Linked DNA regions of Homo sapiens: region 2 is linked to region 1. Evidence: promoter capture Hi-C in 16 types of primary human blood cells and fetal thymus (Javierre and others, 2016). All regions are on one chromosome and are shown on one strand. The core of a region is centred on a gene start or on the middle of the fragment in contact, and the rest is flanking DNA. Distances in the headings are between cores, read along the strand shown. Region 1 holds the start of SLC66A2 (solute carrier family 66 member 2). Region 2 overlaps RBFA (ribosome binding factor A).

Region 1 (6,054 bases), core at 3,422-5,921:
TTGTCCTGATGGATGTTCTGTATGTTTCCTGGATCTATGGTTTGGTGTCTGTCATTAATTTGGGGACATTCTTGCCATTCCACCATTTCTCCTGCCCCTTCTCCTCTTTCCTCCTTCCGATTCTCCCATTGTACCAATCATATCCTTTGATGTTGTTCTTGGATGGTGTTTTCTGTTGGTGTATTAGGCTGTTCTTGCATTGCTATAAAGAAATACCTGAGACAGAGTAATTTATAAAGAGAAGAGATTTAATTGGCTCACAGTTCTTGCAGGCCATACCAGCATGGCACCAGCATCTGCTCAGCTTCTTGGGGGCCTCAGGGAACTTTTACTCATGGCGGAAGGCAAAGTGGGAGCAGGCATTTCACACGGTAAAAGCAGGAGCAAGAGAGAGAGAGAGTGAGGGTGTGGGTAGGTGCCAGACACTTTAAAGAAAAACAGATCTCAGGCGGGCGCGGTGGCTCATGCCTATAATCGCAGCACTTTGGGAGGCCGAGGTGGGTGGATCAAGAGGTCAGGAGTTTGAGACCAGCCTGGTCAACATGGTGAAACCCCATCTCTACTAAAAATACAATAAATTAGCCAGGCATAGTGGCACAAGCCTGTAATCCCAGCTACTCGGGAGACTGAGGCACAAGAATCACTTAAACCCAGGAGGTTGCAGTAAGCTGAGACTGTGCTGTGCCACTGCACTCCAGTCTGGGCAACAGAACGAGACTCCGTCTCAAAACAAAAACAAAAACAAAAACAGATCTCACATGAACTCAGAGTGAGAGCTTACTCATCACAAGGGGATGAAGCGATGGTGCAAGCCATTCATGAGGAACCCGCCCCCATGATCCAAACACCCCCTGCCAAGCCCCACCTCCAAAACTGGTGATTATAACTCAACATGAGATTTGGTGGGGACACACACTCAAACTAGATCAGTTGATTTTTTTTTTTTTCATCACCTTTTCTCCTTGAATTTCAGTTTGGGAAGTTTCTGTTGACTTATCTTCATATTCACTGATTCTTTCCTTCATTCTGTCTAGTCAACTAATGAGCATTCTTTATTTCTATTGTGTTTTTGACTTCTAGCATTTTTTTTTTATTATTGTTTCCATCTTTCTGCTGATATCACCTATCTGGTCTTGCATGTTGTCTAATTTTTCTGCTAAAGCCAGTTTATCCAGGAGTTTCTGCTCTGGGTGAGCAGCTCTCAGGTGCTGTCTCTCCCTGGATGTGCCTGTCTCTTCAGAGCAGGGTGCCAGTTTGTCTGGCAGCCTTAGTTCTCTGATGGGCCCATGAAAGGCTGCCCTGCTATTCTTTGCTGTAAGGATGGGGGTGGTGACTGCCAAGCACGTCACATGACACCAGTTGAAGTTGCGGAACTTCTGAGCCAGGCTCCTAAAGTGAGACTTCCAATCCACCTTCCGTACAGGTTTCCTTAAAAAATGGGGTGCGCGACCAGCAAGGTGGCTCACTCCTGTAATCCCAGCACTTTGGGAGGCCTAGGTGAGAGGATCCTTTGAAGCCAGGAGTTCAAAGACCAAACTGGCCAACATAGTGAGCTCCCCGTCTCTATAAAATAAATAAATAAAATAAAAAGAAATAGGCTGAGTGAGAAACAGTGGCTCCAATCTTCCTCTGATGTCCCAGCTCTCAGAACAAGGTTGCTTTGTTTGCTTTTCCTTTTATAAGCACCATGTGTTAGGCAAATTCTTAAGTGGTTCCCTGAGGTATTCATGCTCCTACGTGACACCTTAATCTGCACCGGGCCAACCCAGTGACCTGTTTCTCATGAGCAGAGCCTGGAAAGCATGAGGCACAGCTCTGCTTCCTCTGTGTCACAGCTCTGATCTTGTCAGTCACTCATTGGCTCCTGCAACAAATGACCACAGCTAAGTGGCTTTTACAACAGCAGAAGTTTATTCCTTCACAGCTCTGGAGGCCAAAAGTCCAAAATCACTTTTAATGTGCTGAAATCAAGGCATTGGCAGGGCCAGGCTCCCTCGCATGGCTCCTGGGGAGAATCTGCTCCTTGTTTCTGGGGCCTCTGGTGGCTCCGGCGTTACTTGGCTTGGGACTGCATCACGTCAATTTTCAAGGCCCCATCTTCATCTCTGCTCCATCTTCCCATGGCCCTCTCTTCTGTGTGGCACCAAATTTCCTTCTGCCTCCCTCTTACAAAGATGCATGTGGCCGGGCACGCTGGCTCATGCCTGTCATCCCAGCACTTTGAGAGGCCAAGGCAGGAGGATCGCTTGAGGCCAGGAGTTCAAGACCAGCCTGGCCAACACAGAGACCCTGTCTCTGTTGTATGTATTTATTTTTGAGATAGGGTCTCACTTTGTCACCGAGGCTAGAGTGCAGTGGTGCGATCCTGGCTCACTGCTGCCTCAACCTCCTGGCCTCAAGCAATCCTTCCACCTCAGGAGTAGCTGGGACTACAGGTGCACACTACCATGCCCAGATAATTTTTCTATCTTTTGTAGAGACGAGGTCTCACCATGTTGCTCAGGCTGGTCTCGAACTCCTGGGCTCAAGAGATTTACCTGCCTCAGGCTCCCAAAGTGCTGGGATTATAGGCGTGAGCCACAGTGTTTAGGGCCCACCTGGATAATCCAGGACAATCTCTCTATCTCAAGATCCTTAATGACATTAGAAAAAAAAATTGTTTTCCCATACGAGGTAATATTTACAGGTTGCCTGGATTAGGACTTGATGGCTTTATAAGGGCCATTTTCCAGCTGTGCATGGCTTGGTCGGCTTCTCTTGTTTGCAGGAAGCTATGTGACAAGCGCAGCACCTGCAATGAGCTGTGATTGGCTGATGTAGACTGGGGGTGGGGGCTCGGACCCCCGGCAGGTGGTGTTCGAAAAGGTACAAACTCACTCTGCAGTCATCAACTCACCTTTCGGGGTGCCTCTGAGGCGTGAGGCCTGTGGGGTGACGTCCGAGCATGCCAGATTTCGTCCACTGAGCCGGGCTCCTGGAGGCCCCGTGCACAGATGCAGCTCTAGGCCCCAGGCTGCGGGCACAATTTGCCCCATGCCTCCACAGCCTCTGGATTTAAGATAACCGAGGATAGCGTCTGGGACCCCAGTGCTCCCGTGAGGGTCAAGGAGGTCCGGAGCTTACTCCAACCTCCAGGGCAGAGAGGACAGATGATCCCAAAGGCTGCTGGGCTCAGGCTAGGGCGCGGCTGAGCAGGGGCAGCTGCTTTTTCTCTCCCAGGCTTCCTGCTGTGCCTTTTACTCACCTCTACGTTCCTGGTGCTGGGGCTCCGCAGCGCTGGCTCTAAAGAAGTTCCAACGCCAGCCTGGGGGCGCAAGGCAGGAGCGCCCTGTTTCCTCGATTGTTGGGGATTTGCTCCTAGTTAGGTGGTGACTGTCCTTATGATCCCCCATAAAACCAGTCGGGCAGGGGGCAGGGGGCAGGGGGCCGGGATCGTGGAGAAGAGGCCGCGGCTGGCGGGGAAGCAACCCTCAGCGTGGACCCCTCAACCTCGCGGCTCGCCCCTTACCCGTGCACCCCTCGCCTCACACCCCCGCGCCCCTCACCCACGCGTCCCTCACCCTACACACACCCGCCCATCACTCGCGCACCCTTCACCCCTCACCCACGCTCCCCTCACCCTTCACCGGCGCGCCCCTCACCCCTCACCCCTCACCCAGGCGCCCCTCACCCTTCACTCGCGCATCACTCACCCCTCACCCCTCACCCACGCTCCCCTCACCCCTCACCCCTCACCCGCGCTCCCCTCACCCCTCACCCGCGCGCCCCTCACCCCTCACCCGCGCTCCCCTCACACTTCACCCGCGCTCCCCTCACTCTTCACCCGCGCGCCCCTCATCCACGCGCCCCTCGCCCTCAGTCCTCACCCGCGCGGGCCAAGAGGGTCCCGGGCGAGGGCAGCTCCCCGCGGGCGGGTGTGGGGCTCGGAGTTGGCTTGGCACGCGAGGCCGGCAGCAGGGCCCGGGCTTCACGCACGCCTGGCCCCCGAGTCTGTCTTGAGGCTCAGGAGCTGCCTTTTCTGCAAATAGGCGCCCAACGGTTCAGCCCGGAGAACTACACGGGGATGGGGAGAGGCCGCCCCGCGTTTCTGCAGCGACAGCGACCGTGGCCGCAACCACGATAATGACAATGGCCACGGTGACGGCCGCGCGTCCAGCCGGCCCCCCGGCGACGGCCCCGGCGCATCTGCTCGTGGGGCACTTGCATCGGAGCGGAGACCCGCGGGGGGCGCTCCGTTTCCCGAGACCCCGGCCGCCTCTGGGCGCTGCAAACTCCGAGCCGGGTCCCCGGGTCTCCTGGGTCAGGACAGAGCTGGACGAGACTCGTCCCCGGGTGGCCCGCATTCAGGACACGCGTGAGAGGGGCGTCCGGACCCCGCGCCCCCGGCCCTCCAGGACGACGCCCTCCGCTTGGATGGCCGCGCGCCGGGACAGCTGGAGACGGGTTAACGTGGGCGCCAGGCCTGAGGGACCGGCCCCGCCCGGCTGGTATTTCCCGACCGGGCGGGAGGAGCCACGCGCCCCCACCGCCCCGACAGCCCCGGCTCCCGGCCCCGCCTGCGCCCGCCCTGCCCAGCGCGCTCTAGGACACCGCGGCGCCTCCGCGCAGCTCCGGCGTGGGCGGGGCCCGGCATTGTGACGTCACGGGGCGGGGTTTCCCGGCGCCTGAGCGGACTGACGCCGAGACGCGCGCGGGTCAGCGGCGCGGGGACGCGGGGCGCTGGGCGCGGGGCTGGGGGCGCAGGTAAGGAGCGCGGGGGCGGCGCGGGGTCCTCGGGGGGCGGCCTAGGGCGGCCGAGGACGCAGGGCCGGGGCAGTTGGTCGCGGCCTTCAGTCCCCTGGCTTGGTCCTGTGGGGTCCCCGGCCCGGCACCTCCTCCCGCGAGCCGTGCGCCCCCATCCTGGGCCTGCGCCCCCTTCCCCCGAGCCGTGCGCCCCCATGCTAGGCCCTGTGACCCTCCCCCGAACAGTGCGCCCCGATCCTGGGCCCTGCGCCCCCTCCCCCACCCCATCCCGGGGCGCGCGTGGACCCCCGCCGGCTAAGCGCACCCGGGCGGTGACCCCAGGGGCTTCGCCCGTCCTCGACCCCGGCGCTGGGACCCCTCCCCAGCCCCCTCCGGGAGCGTCTCGGGACCCCCAGACACCCCCCCGTCCCAGGCAGGGGCCGCTCCTCGCGCGCCCCGGGCCCCGGTCGCCCCCGCTCTGCCTCGGGTCCTGCGGCTGGCGCGGGTCGGGTCGGGTCCGTGCGCGCCGCCCCAGCCTCCCTGGGCGGAACTCGAGCAGCTCCCCGCTCCCCGCAGGCCCCGAGGCCGCAGGAGCGCGCGGAGCGGCGATGAGCAGGCGGCCGGTGGCCCGCGGGGCGCGGAGCCCGTGACAGCCTCGGCCAGGCGGGCGCTGCGATGGAGGCCGAGGGCCTGGACTGGCTCCTGGTGCCACTGCACCAGCTGGTGTCCTGGGGCGCGGCCGCGGCCATGGTCTTCGGAGGGGTGGTGCCCTACGTCCCGCAGTATCGGGACATTCGCAGGACGCAGAACGCCGACGGCTTCTCCACCTACGTGTGCCTGGTGCTGCTGGTGGCCAACATTTTGCGGATACTCTTCTGGTAAGTTGGGGGCTTGCTTTCCTGGGCTGCACCCGGAGAAGAGGGTTTCTCCTTTGGGGTTTCTGGTTGAGGCCGGGGGAGCAGCAGGGTCCACACCTCCCTGCTGGGCCAGCGTCCCACTCTGCCGTGGATGGGGTACGTGGCTGCAGGCAAGTCACTTCTTAGGGTGAGATTATTTTTCCAGAAAAACGGTGGGGTTGGAGCACAGAATCTCAGAGAAAATCTCCAGATCCGCCTCCTTGCATGATGTTCCACATGGGTACTTAGCAGGGACCTCTCAGCTGGGCACTGGCCTAGGCCTGCCTGTGGAGAGGAGCCGTTCCTGCCCTCCTTTTTCATGTTGTATAGTTTTTCTTTGTTGTTTTGAGAGAGGGTCTTGCTCTGTGGTCCAGGCTGAAGTGCATGATGACATGACAGCTCACCGCAGTCTCCACGTTCCTGGGCTCAGGTGATC
Region 2 (6,384 bases), core at 156-2,655, 90 kb before region 1:
TGGGGACCTGGCTGGGAACAGGGGCACAGGAGAAAGGGACAGCCTTTTCATTTGCACCTTTCTTTCATTACTTTTCATTTGTTCCCTTCTCAGTGGTTTCTTCTCTTTTTTTTTTTTGACACGGAGTCTCTCACTCTGCTGCCTGGAGTGCAGTGGCACAATCTCGGCTCACTGCAACCTCCGCCTTCCCGGTTCAACTGATTCTTCTGCCTCAGCCTCCCGAGCAGCTGAGACTACGGGCGCACGCCACCACACCTAGCTAATTTTTTTGTATTTTTAGTAGAGACAGGGTTTCACCGTATTGGCCAGGCTAGTCTCTAACTCCTGACCTTGTGATCCACCTGCCTCGGCCTCCCAAAGTGCTGGGATTACAGGCTTGAGCCACTGCACCTGGCCTCTTCTCTTTTTTAACTGTACATTATCTTTTCAGGATTTAAAACTTAAATTTAAAACTTTATTCATATAAGCGTTTATGTTATAAAAAGTTAATTATTACCTGGGCCCGGTGGCTCACACCTATAAATCCCAGCACTTTGGGAGGCTGAGACAGAAGGATCCCTTGAGGCCAGGAGTTCAAGACTAGCCTGGACAATATAGCAAGACTCTGTCTCTAATTAAAAAAATAAAAATTTTTAAATTTTAAAAAGTTTTTTTGAAAACCTTACCTCAGCTAGAGCTGCATTTCCCTTGTCTTGAACAAACACTATCGGTGGCACATTCCTCAGGGTCTGCTGGGACATCAAAAGGTGCCTAGGAGACAGAACGCACAGACCCTCACAGCTGTGCCGTGACACTCAGTGGAGAGGCGTGACAGTGCTGAACATATGATTCAAGATGTAACCAAGAGGCAGGAGTGAGAGGCCGGGCGCGGTGGCTCACGCCTGTAATCCCAGCACTTTGGGAGGCCGAGGCGGGCGGATCACGAGGTCAGGAGATCGAGACCATCCTGGCTAACATGGTGAAACCCCGTCTCTACTAAAAATACAAAAAATTAGCCAGGCGTGGCGGCAGGCACCTGTAGTCCCAGCTACTCGGGAGGCTGAGGCAGAAGAATGGCCTGAACCCGGGAGGCGGAACTTGCAGTGAGCCAAGATAGTGCCACTACACTCCGGCCTGGGTGAAAGAACAAGACTCGGTCTCAAAAAAAAAGAAAAAAAAAAAAAAGAGGCAGGAGTGAGATTTATCGTATTACTCAAAAATGAAAACCTCAGCCCAGAAGAGTCATCTTTAGTCAACTACCACATCAAAAAAGGGATGCAAAATGCATCATAACTGCAATTGCCTTGACTTTTCTCAACGCAACTTGTGCGATCTGTACAAATAACCTGATCTGAACTCATCGCCGTAGCCTTGGGCTCCAGGGTCTGTGCACTAACAGCCTGTCCTCCTGTGCCCAGTGGACACGCCCTGGCACGACACAACCCTCAGGTTCCCAGATATTAGACACAGAAGTGATATTTGTATCATGCACATCACATAATACAGACCTAGGGCCAATGTAGGCACGGCACATATAACCAGCGAAAGCCGTGACCACAGATCTTTGGTACACAGCTATGGAAAACGGTGACCCTAAATCTTGGGTGACCGCAGGAGTTGGGAAGAGGGACATTCAGCTCAACTGAATTTTCTGATACCTAAAAATCAGAAAACAATGCTGTTTCAACACTTGTCAATAATCTCTCATTTTCTTGCTTTTGTTAAACAGTAAGAAATAAGCATTCTCTGATATGCAGTTTCACAGACCCCTGGGCATCATCGTGTGTGGTAATGATGCAGGGAAGCCAGGCAGGGTGCCTGGAACGAAGCCCACACACGGCCACCTTTTCTACGTCTGTCCCCACCCTAAACATGGGGCATGATGAGAAGGGAGGCAGAAAGGAGGAATTCCAGTTCTGAGAGAGCTGGACAGTGAGCTGGATTTGGATTTCTGCATTTTTTAAAACTGAGGAGGAAACTGAATAATTTCTTTATTATCATCCAGCTCAGCAATTCCCAAAATTGTTGGTCCCAGGATCCTTTACATTCTTAAAAATTACTGAAGATCCCAAAGAGCATTTGTTTATGTGGGTTCTATCTATCAATATTTACTATACTACAAACTAAAACTGAGAACTCTAAAAGCTACGTCTTTTTAAAGTCGCTTAAAAACCCACTAAATGCTTACATAGACATTTTTAACAAAAAATATATATATACACTCCCCCCCACAAAATCAATGAAAAGCATGGAATTGTTTATGTATTTGCAAATTCTCCAAGGCCAGCTTCATGGAAGACAGCTGGGATCTCACTGCTGCTTCTGCACTCTGTCCTTCCTCTCACTGAAATACAAGAAGAGCCAGCGCAGTAGCTCATGCCTGTAATCTCAACACTTTGGGAGGCTCAGGCCAGAGGATCGCTTAAGCCCAGGAGTTGGAGACCAGCCTAGACAACATAGAGAGATCCTATCTCTACAAAAAATACAAAATTAGCCAAGTGTGGTGGCATGCACCTGTGCTTCCAGCTGTATGGGAAGCTGAGGCAGGAAGATCACTTGAGCCTGGGAGGTTGAGGCTGCAGGAGCCAAGATTGTGTCTCTGCACTCCAGCCTGGGAGACAGAATGAGATCCTGTCTCAAAAAAAGCAAAAAAAAAAAAAAAAAAATTCAGGCCTCCCAGTTATGTGTTGGAAAAGACAGAATTTAACAGCCATGAGAAAAGTATGGATCTTCTTTGTCACAAAAATTCAACAAATGTACTTTATTAAAGGTCAGTTGTCCCGGCCTGGCCAATATAGTGAAACCTCATCTCTACTAAAAATACAAAAATTAGCTGGGCATGGTGGCGGGCGTCTGTAACCCCAGCTACTCAGGAGGCTGAGGCATGAGAATCACTTGAACCCGGGAGGCAGAGGTTGCAGTGAGCCAGTATCACTCCACTGCCCTCCAGCCTGGGCGACAGAGCAAGACTCCATCTCAAATAAATAAACATATAAATAGTTGCAATGAGGAATCTGAAACCACACCCAACCAACCTGTCACACTCTGCTACATTAAAACTCACCATCTGGCTCACACTTTGAATTGATCTCTCAGCGTATGGTTTTGTAACCTCATGCACTGGTCATTTGGAAAACAACAGCTCACCTAGTTATGCAGATTTTAAAAGCATTGACACAGTTTATCATACAACAGCACGTTTGTTAAGGTCGCTGCCAATCTCATCAGAAGAGTCTCAAGTACCTAGAAGTTGTCAAGCTCACAGTGGTGAATACAAGTTTCCTAAAATTCTGATTTTCACTTGAAAGCTTAAATTTTATCACTGGCAACAGATATGGTCTGTTGTTTGCTCCGGAGTGGTAGGTTCACTCGCTTATTTTTGAAAGAATGTCTGCCAAACACCCAAACCTAAACAGTCTGCTCACTGATGCTTTTCTGTTCAGCATTCTCCAGACAGCAGGTGATTTACATGTACTTCCCATTACAAAAAATATGAAAAAGGCATGCTCAAGGGTCAAGATTTAATACAATTAATAATTTTTGATAAACTGTCTCGGATTTTTTAATTTTTCTTTGAGAAACAGGGTCTTGCTCCGTTGCCCAGGCTGGAATGCAGGTACATTAACACGGCTCACTGCCACCTCAAATTCCTGGGCTGATAGGAATCCAGGGGATACCTCCCACCTCAGCCTCCTGAGTAGGTGGGACTATATGCGTGTGCTGCCACTGTGCCTGGTTAATTTTTTAATTTTTTGTAGAGACAGGGTCTCGCCATCTTGCCCAGACTGGTCCTGAACTCCTGGCCTCAAGTGATCCTCCCGCCTCGGCATCCCGAGTTGCGGGGATTACAGGTGAGAGGCACCATGTCCAGCCTCATCTGGGATATTCTTAAGTAAAAGTAACATTGTCTTTTACTCTAGGCATGTGGCATGGCGCCCCTACAGCACTGGCTGGCAGCATGGCACCAGCAGTCTTCCCTCATGGTTTCTGTACCCTCAGTGCAAATGTCAACACAGCAGGAGAGGTGAAATAACGTCTTACCCTAATGAACTCCCTGACAGGATCTCCAGATCCCTAGTGATCCTGGCACACTTTAATAAATGCTAACCTACATTATAGCTTATACAAAAATGCAAATTATACTATGAACTTCAAGAAAATGCCTCCAAAATTTTCTTTAAAAGCAAAAATACTCAATGAAAAGTTCAAGTCCACCTACAAGTGAAACAGCTGAGAAATTTAGGGTATGAGCAAAAAGCAAGTACATTCAGAAAGCAAAGGTCATCACCTCATGTGCGCGGCACTTCTCTGCAGGACAGCCTCCATGTGTGCGTTCTGCTCAGCAGAGAGCGTTGTCTTCCAGTACGCTCGGCAGGCTGAGAAGTCTGGAGTCAGGGAAACCTGAGACCCCGCCCCTCCACAGGTCACTTTTTAGCTTACATGGGTTTTCAAGACAAACAACATCCAGGAGATGAAAACGACAGCTGCAGACGCCCCTCCCACCCAAGCCAGGGCTCTGGCATGCTGCTGGAGGCCACCTCCTGCTGCCGCACCATGTCCCCAGGTGAAGTAGGGCCCCAGAAACCAAAACCTCCCTCCTCTCTTCACCAGGACCCGCAAACCAAACCACCTGGTTTGCAGAACCAAACCGGAACCCTGACCCCACGCTTGCCTCACAGCCACTTGCCCTGAGACACTAATCAAAAATGCTCGATGCTGCCTTTTCTCCTTACAACTCACTGAGTGGGTCAGAGGAAGTCATCTCCTGTACCTCTGTACTGAGGTACATGCAGATGCATCCTCTTCCCACGGCAGGCTTAGACCTTCTACTATCTGACAATGTGCCAGGTGCTGTTTGGTCACAGGACTCCCGCCTTGCAGTGAGACATCTGCCTCTGCACAGCACAGACACTCACCATCTGTCTCCAGGGCTCCAATGACCAGACTGAGCATCATTTCTATTTCTGCAACCCAGAACTAAGACTTCATAAGTGCTAAAGTGGCTTTTTTTTTTTTTGAGATGGAGTCTCGCTCTGTCACCCAGGGTGGAGTGCAGAGGCGCGGCCTCAGCTCACTGCAACCTCCGCCTCCTGGGTTCAAGCGATTCTCCTGCCTCAGCCGCCCGAGTAGCTGGGACTACAGGCGCCCGCCACCATGCCCGGCTAAGTTTTTGTATTTTTAGTGGAGATGGGATTTCACTGTGTTAGCCAGGATCGTCTCAATCTCCTGGCCTCGTGATCCGCCCGCCTCAGCCTCCCAAAGTGCTAGGATTACAGGCGTGAGCCACCGCGCCCAGTCTAAAGCGTCTTTTTTTAATTGTCAGGCAAGACTGGGCCAGGTAAAGTAAGTGCCAGGCCTGCTGTCTCAACCCATTTCTTCTCTTTGGCCACACAGCCTACCTTGGAGAGCTCCACGTTAAGGTCATACAGCTCCTGACTCACTTCAGGGGTACACAGCAGGTCTGTCAGTGCCTTATAGAGGAGGCCGTTCAGGGCCCTCAGGCGCGCATGGTCTTCCTTCCTGGTTTTCTTTGAGGTGCTCCTCATGAGGAATTCCAACTTGGATGGTTTGTAAGTCTCCATCAGGAAGAAGAGCACACCCCAAGGGCAGCGTTACAACTCCAAACTCACCAAGTCACACAGCAGGGGCTGGGGGAGGGCTGGATGGGCAACCAGATCAACAGCAGCTATCACTCTCAGCTGCCTCAGCTTTCATTAAGATAAAGTTTTATAAACCGGGATCCTTTTAAATTTTACCTGGTAACCCTCCAAGATTAAAAGTACTGCCAGTAAATATTTTCTCAAAAAAAGTTTTTGTTGAGATATAATTCACATACCATAAAGTTCACCGTGCTAAAGGGAATAATTCAGTAATTTTTTGGAAACGTGATGTATTTATTTTTCAGAATGGGAGCCATATATTGTATAAACTTTTACAGTACACACACACTAAAAACTGAATGGATATTACCATATTATAATTTGATAAAAGATATGACTTTCCAGAAAACATTAATGTCAGTACATTTTTTTTTGAAAAGATCAAAACTCCATGTTGCCAATGGCATCCAGTCGCATCCACATAGACACTATCCCCTCCAATACAGAAATGGAAAGACCTCCAGGTAAGAGTTTTGCCAACTTTTAAACCCTCACTCCCATCAAGATTATAAAGTGGCTCATGGCTTATACTCACCGAGTGAGAACCCAAGGAAGGACTTTCATACCAAACCTTTTTTCTTTGGGGAGAAAATAAGCATTATGTTAGTGATGGCAAAGTCAAAAAGTTACATAAGCTAATTTAAGAGGTTATGATACCATAACTGTTTATAGGGGGCTAAACTTAGATGTTACATTACTGGACATCTTAAAAAATTTCAGAATTTAATTGATAACAACATGGGTT

Evidence for each region. The method cuts DNA at HindIII sites, captures the fragments that hold promoters and counts their contacts. A CHiCAGO score of 5 or more calls a contact.
Region 2: a fragment that was not itself captured here is called in contact with the fragment with the promoter of SLC66A2 in region 1 in 1 of 17 cell types (neutrophils); the score reaches 7.2 in neutrophils.

What each region holds. Positions count from the first base shown.
Region 1 is chr18:79,950,270-79,956,323 of GRCh38, reverse strand. SLC66A2 (solute carrier family 66 member 2) reads left to right here and starts at 4,671. Exons shown (of 6, transcript NM_025078.5): 1 at 4,671-4,743; 2 at 5,299-5,600. The coding sequence starts at 5,398. It overlaps LOC124904336 (a long non-coding RNA gene), which reads right to left and starts at 3,515. Exons shown (of 2, transcript XR_007066429.1): 1 at 3,245-3,515; 2 at 228-3,048. RefSeq lists silencers at 4,140-4,189, 4,320-4,829, 5,150-5,229, 5,270-5,389. The HindIII fragment of the contact is 12,677 bases long and covers 1-6,054 here.
Region 2 is chr18:80,036,501-80,042,884 of GRCh38, reverse strand. RBFA (ribosome binding factor A) reads right to left here. Exons shown (of 7, transcript NM_024805.3): 2 at 6,175-6,217; 3 at 5,379-5,555; 4 at 4,268-4,380; 5 at 666-750. Among named protein-coding and RNA genes, the nearest start is that of RBFA, 5.3 kb to the right of the region's middle. The HindIII fragment of the contact is 3,769 bases long and covers 1-3,289 here.